Linked DNA regions of Homo sapiens: region 2 is linked to region 1. The links are contacts of gene promoters, found by promoter capture Hi-C in human tissues and cell types (Jung and others, 2019). All regions are on one chromosome and are shown on one strand. The core of a region is centred on a gene start or on the middle of the fragment in contact, and the rest is flanking DNA. Distances in the headings are between cores, read along the strand shown.

The links. Contacts are between HindIII fragments. The study calls those that stand out against the background at their distance.
Region 2: a contact is called between a fragment that was not itself captured here and the fragment with the promoter of OR4D2 in region 1, in 1 of the 25 tissues and cell types used here (spleen).

Annotation. Positions count from the first base shown.
Region 1 is chr17:58,165,569-58,168,594 of GRCh38, reverse strand. It overlaps OR4D2 (olfactory receptor family 4 subfamily D member 2), which reads right to left and starts at 1,613. Exons shown (of 2, transcript NM_001004707.4): 1 at 1,542-1,613. The HindIII fragment of the contact is 7,868 bases long and covers 1-3,026 here.
Region 2 is chr17:57,770,816-57,773,586 of GRCh38, reverse strand. No RefSeq gene overlaps it. Among named protein-coding and RNA genes, the nearest start is that of CCDC182, 27 kb to the right of the region's middle. The HindIII fragment of the contact is 9,168 bases long and covers 1-2,771 here.

The DNA.
Region 1 (3,026 bases), core at 364-2,863:
AGGAATAGAGCAAGTGAAGGTAAAGGAAGTGGAAAAGTGCTGGGGAGGTGGAGAAAACGGGACTAAAGGGACAGAAGAAGATGGAGGAGCCGGGAGAGGTGGCTCACGCCTGTAGTCCCAGAAATTTGGGAGGCGGAGGCGGATGGATCACTTGAAGTCAGAAGTTTGAGACCAGCCTGGCCAACATGGTGAAACTCCGGATCTGTACTAAAAATACAAAAAAATTAGCCGGGCGTGGTGGCACACACCTGTAATCTCAGCTACTTGGGAGGCTGAGGCAGGAGAATCGCTTGAAGCTGGTTGGAGGCTGCAGTGAGTGGAGGTCATGCCACTGCACTCCAGCCTGGGTGACAGAGCGAGACTCTGTCTCAAAAAATCAAAAACAAAAAAAAAAGAAGAAGAAGATGGAGGGTGACAGGGGAGGGGGTCAGTGGTCTCCCCCCTCCCCCTGCCCTGTCTCAATCTCTCTTACCCTCTCTTACCTGGCCTATTGCAATCTATTATCTACAATATTATAGGTCATTCTAATCTTATTCTGCTCCTTCAGTTTACTTCCACTCCAGGACACCTTCTTTTTTTTTTTTTTTTTTTTTTTGTGACGGAGTCTCGCTGTCGCCCAGGCTGGAGTGGCGCGATCTCGGCTCACTCACTGCAAGCTCCGCCTCCCGGGTTCACGCCATTCTTTTACCTCAGCCTCCCGCGTAGCTGGAACTACAGGCGCCCACCACCTCGCCCGGCTAATTTTTTTTGTAACACGGTTTCACTGTGTTAGCAGGATGGTCTCGATCTCCTGACCTCGTGATCCGCCCGCTTCCGCCTCCCAAAGTGCTGGGATTACAGGCATGAGCCACCGCGCCTGGCCTCACTCCAGGACACCTTCTACACAGCTGTCCATGAGACCCCTCTGACTCAGATGTGATCATATTCCTCATTGTTATAATATTTGATTTGCTCACAGCTTAAAACTCAAACTCTCAGAAGCCACCTAAAATGCTCTGTGGATAAACTGAGGGTGGAAAAACATACCTACATACGTGCATGCAACTCTCTCTCAGCATTTCATACAAGACTATAAAAAATAGCCTCCCTATACCTTTCTAATCAGTATCACTGTCACCTGGGAACTGATTGCTGTTCAAAGAACTCATAGCTTCCATGTAGGCAGTATATTTCATTATTTTCATATCTTTGGTAATAAATCCTGTTTCCTGAAATGCCTTTTGCTACCTTCTCAACCTAGAGGCGATAAGAGAAATATCACTTTCCCTTTGACTCCTCCCCCCATTTCTCTCATGCAGAATTAATTCCTTATTTCTCTGTGTTCCAATAGCATTTGATAAATACCTCCATTATAGCATTTATCATTTTTTCTATTGCTTCTCTTAACTAGATTGTAAATTCAATAACTTAGTAAGCCCAGAGTCTATGACAGCATCTCTGATTTAGCACTTGCTCAGAAATGTTTGCCAACTTAATATATTAGCAGGTAAATGTGACTTTGTTTTATGTGACAATGTCGAGAATCTTGTGATTTTCCTCACCGTTGATGTCCTTTGCTGTGAGCATCCTCCCTCTAAGTCTCATAGGGCGAATTCTGTGCTTTGTTGTTTTCCTATGTAATCGGAGGCATCCGTTTTCAACATCACATTCCCCTTGCAGTTTTTCTTGAGTCTCTGCTCATCCTTTAGACTTACTATCGTCAGGTCTATGTCACTTGCTTATTACTCCCACCCTCTAGCAGGTGTTGCAAGATCTTTCTTACAGCTGATCTCTGTGCAGCTGAGGAAACACTGGTCTCTCACCTCCCTTTAGCCCAGAATGGGGCTTCAGTGTACATCTTCTTGGAGATCCTTTGCTTCAGCCTCACAGTTTCTTAGCTCCTGCCCTTACTTCATGAATAATACCATGGGTGAGACCCCAGGGGAAGGGGGAATATCCTTTGGGAGAAACTATTGGACAGGGCTCAGGAAGCTGAGCTGGGCTGATTATCACTGGGGCCAAGGGAGCAATGGGAGTTGTTAAAAAGTTTCTAAATGTCTCAAAAGCACACACTCTTTGAGAGGTCTTCCTTGGGGGGCCCAAAGTACCAAGCACATTGAAAATTTTAGAGATTTGAGGAATGGGTAATATTCAGGCCAAGATCCAAAAGGACAAGAGGGTCTTCAAAAAAAAGGAGACTCTGAGAGTTTTAGGAGAATTTCTTTCTTAGACCAGTGACACCTACCCTTGAGAGAATTACCTGAAGGCCTTGTTAAAAGGCAGACTTCTGTTCCCAGCCCAGAATTTCTCATTCAGTACATCAATGGTAAGACCAAGAATTTGCATTTGTAGCAAGTTCTCAGATAATGCTGATGCACCTGTTCCAGGGACCAGACATTGAGAACCAACGACTTGCTCTTCAGCACAATGGATAGTTCTCTTTCATGGTGTTGTCAAGGTAACTGGTTTGATTTCTTCTCCTTTTAAACTGAATTGATCTTTACATAGGCAACGTCATGGATGGGAAAATGTCTGCATACTAAAATGAAAACTTAATTACCCCATAAATCTTGTTCTTCATCTTGTCAACCAATACCCCCACAGTTGATTCACTACCCATATCAATTATACTCACACCATCTACAAAGTGCTAGCATTATTTACATGTCAATTATTACTCCCTTTAATACAAGGATTGGCACAAGAAGCCCATATATTTTCTAATTATGAGGAACTGATTAAAAATTGGAATTAACCAACACTGTAAGCTTGATGTGCTGTAAAATCTGTGTGATTTCTCACAGCTCTCTGATCCACGTGAGGTTCTCAGGTTGGTCTGAGTTCTTTCATTGCGAATGTTTATACTTGGCAAAATAAAGACTCTGCCTCTGGGGATAAGAACACGAAGTGACGTTCTTTCACATACAAGAGATGTCAATTTAAAAAAAACACAAATTCTTCCCATTATTTGGAGCTTTAGTCTACTTTAAAATTGAGCCACTCAGGAAAGTAGTCTAGATTGATGGTGGGGATGGGCACAGGCCTTG
Region 2 (2,771 bases), core at 94-2,593, 390 kb after region 1:
TCTCTATAAGTCATGCCAGTTTAATATAAAAAATGGAAAATATAAAGTAACCAGGTAAATGAATGAGTTGGGCTGGCTTGGTGGGGTGCAGACAGAAAGCAACTCTACTCTTCCCCCGACTTGCCCTGCACACTGGCTCTGTGGATTCATTTTTTCTTTCTCTTGCTTTTTGGATACTCCCAGGTATTAATTAAGAGTCTTGCTCCTTCAGGTAATAAAATGTCAAGTCCCAGTCTCATATCAAACTCTCATGCAGTTTATAACTTCTCCCCTTGCTGAGCTTGGCCCGTGGGCACAGGCATGTATGCAGTTGCCTCTTCTCTGTTTTCTTCCTCGCGCCCCCTCTCAGTAGTCGGCTTCTGCCACCTGGGCCAGTGTGGGAGGAAGATGGGGGAGAGGCTTAGGGGGCAAGCAAAGTCTTGGTTGACTGGAACAGTTGTAACCTGGTATCCTGAGGGTGTGTTTCTCCTGTGTGTGCTCTTTAGGGTTCTTTGGAGACACCATCTCCCCACTGGCTGAGGATTTTCTTGGACGGTGCTTCCTCCAGCTGACTCCATAAGAGCGCTAATTTACAGCAGTCAGCTCCTCTGTTGTGGTCGCCTCACTTCTCCAGCAGGGAGCACTCACTTCTAGGGGATCCATATCTGACCTATAAGCAGGCATTTTTCTCAGGGGAAGTCCACGTCTGGTCCACGGGAAGCGCACCTGTATCCTCGCACCACCAAACCTAACAAGTGCAGTGCTTCCTGCCCCTGCCCTGCCTCTTGGCTGCCCATCCATGCAGGCCATCCCAGCTGGCCCTCTGTCTTTGATTTTGGAGCATGAGTCAGGTTGCATCCCTGCATCCTTCAAATTCTAGGGGCATAGAGCAAATCCTTTGAGTGGTTCTAAGTGCCCCTGCCTTTGTATTCAACAACTAACTCTCTCCCTCTTTAAAGAAATCTTTACTCTCAATCTCTTCATCCTGATTCATGCATTCACAGCCTTCTCTTAAAACAATCAATGATGTTCGAGTGCTGACTGAACTGGAGACCCTGCCATGCTGGCCCAGCATCCTGCTTTACTCTGCACCCATTATTTTCTACTTTCAGTAGAAATAATGTCTTGTCTCAGTAATACTGAGACAAGAATCCCATTTTAACATCTAGCGCAGTAGTTGTAGTAGGTTTTTTATGGCTCCAGATTCATTTCAATCCAGGATTATGACCCTTTGCAATACAGCTTTGCAACTCCTCCCATCCAGAGGAGACATCTGCTTGTCTACTCCTTGCAATTTCATTGGCTTTGAGACCAGCTTTGTCCACATAGAAAGGGGCAGAAAGCAAAGCTAGGCAACTTCTGAGGCTAGGGCTTATGAGTCATTGCTGCTTCCACCTTTGCTCTCCTCTAGGAACATTGCCCTGAGACAGACATCCATGAAGAAGCCTGGGATGAAAGACCACATGGAGAGAAAGGCCCACCATCATTCTGCACCAACTACCAACGGCGTAAGGGAGGTTGACTTGGATCTCCCACCCCAGTTGACTCTCCAGCTGAAAGCAACTGCCTGAGCCCAAACAAAACCTGCTGAGGAACCTCCCTGCTAGCAAATGGAATCAGGAGAAATAATAAATAGTTCTGTTGTTTTAAGTCACCAACTCACAAACGGAGTATAAGAAATAATCAATGGATGTAGTTTTAAGTCTCTATGTGTTGGGATGGTTTGATATAACAATAGGTAACTGAAACAGTAGAAGATTAGAAAGAGGAAAAATAATCACCCATAATCCCATCACATAAAGATGACTGCTCTTTTTTTTTTTTTTTTTTTTTGAGATGAAGTCCACTCTGCCACCCAGGCTGGAGTGCAGTGGCACAATCTTGGCTCACTGCAACCTCTGCTTCCTGGGTTCAAGTGATTCTCCTGCCTCAGCCTGCAGAGTAGCTGGGACTAAGGCGTGTGCGACCATGCCCGGCTAATTTTTTTTTTTTTGTGTGTGTGTTTTTATTAGAGACGGGTTTTCACTATGTTGGCCAGGCTGGTCTCAAACTCCTGACTTCAGGCGATCCACCTGCCTCAGCCTCCCAAAGTGCTGAGATTACAGGCGTGAACCACCATGCCTGGCCAAAGATGACTGTTCTTAACATCCGTAAGTTTTTCCTTTCGCTCTCTTTTTTTTCTACACATATTTTTCAACATTTTATTCTGAAAATTTTCAAACACATAAAGTGAACATTCCATACCCACTACTTAGATTCTACAATTATCTTATTTTTAGTGCATTTCAAAGCAATGAACATCAGTACCCTTCACCTATAAATACTTTAGCATTCTGGATATGTTTTAAGTAGTTGTAATAATAAAATGCCTAATATGTACTTTTATATCCTGCTTCATTCAATTATTTTGATATTATTAACACGCTTGAATGTTAAACTCTTTGTGAAATTTACTTTTAATGACTGATAATGTACAATGAAGCAGGTATACTGTCTTTTTTTTTTCTATTTCTGATTGTTAGATAGCTATGATTTTTCTACCTTCGTATCTGTTAATATAAGTTATACTTCAAATACCCTCATTTCCAGGTACAGAAAAAAGGCCAGTGGGTTTACATGACTCATCTGATTTGCTCTGGGATAAAAGGCAGTGTGTTAAATCTTGTTAAGTAGAATATTTTCTCTTGCAGGAGAACATGTGTCTTGGCATCAAAGAGAGCTAGTTCCATCACTTTTCAGTTTTGTGACCTTGATCAAACTCCACAGCCTCTTTAATCTTGCTTTTCCTCATC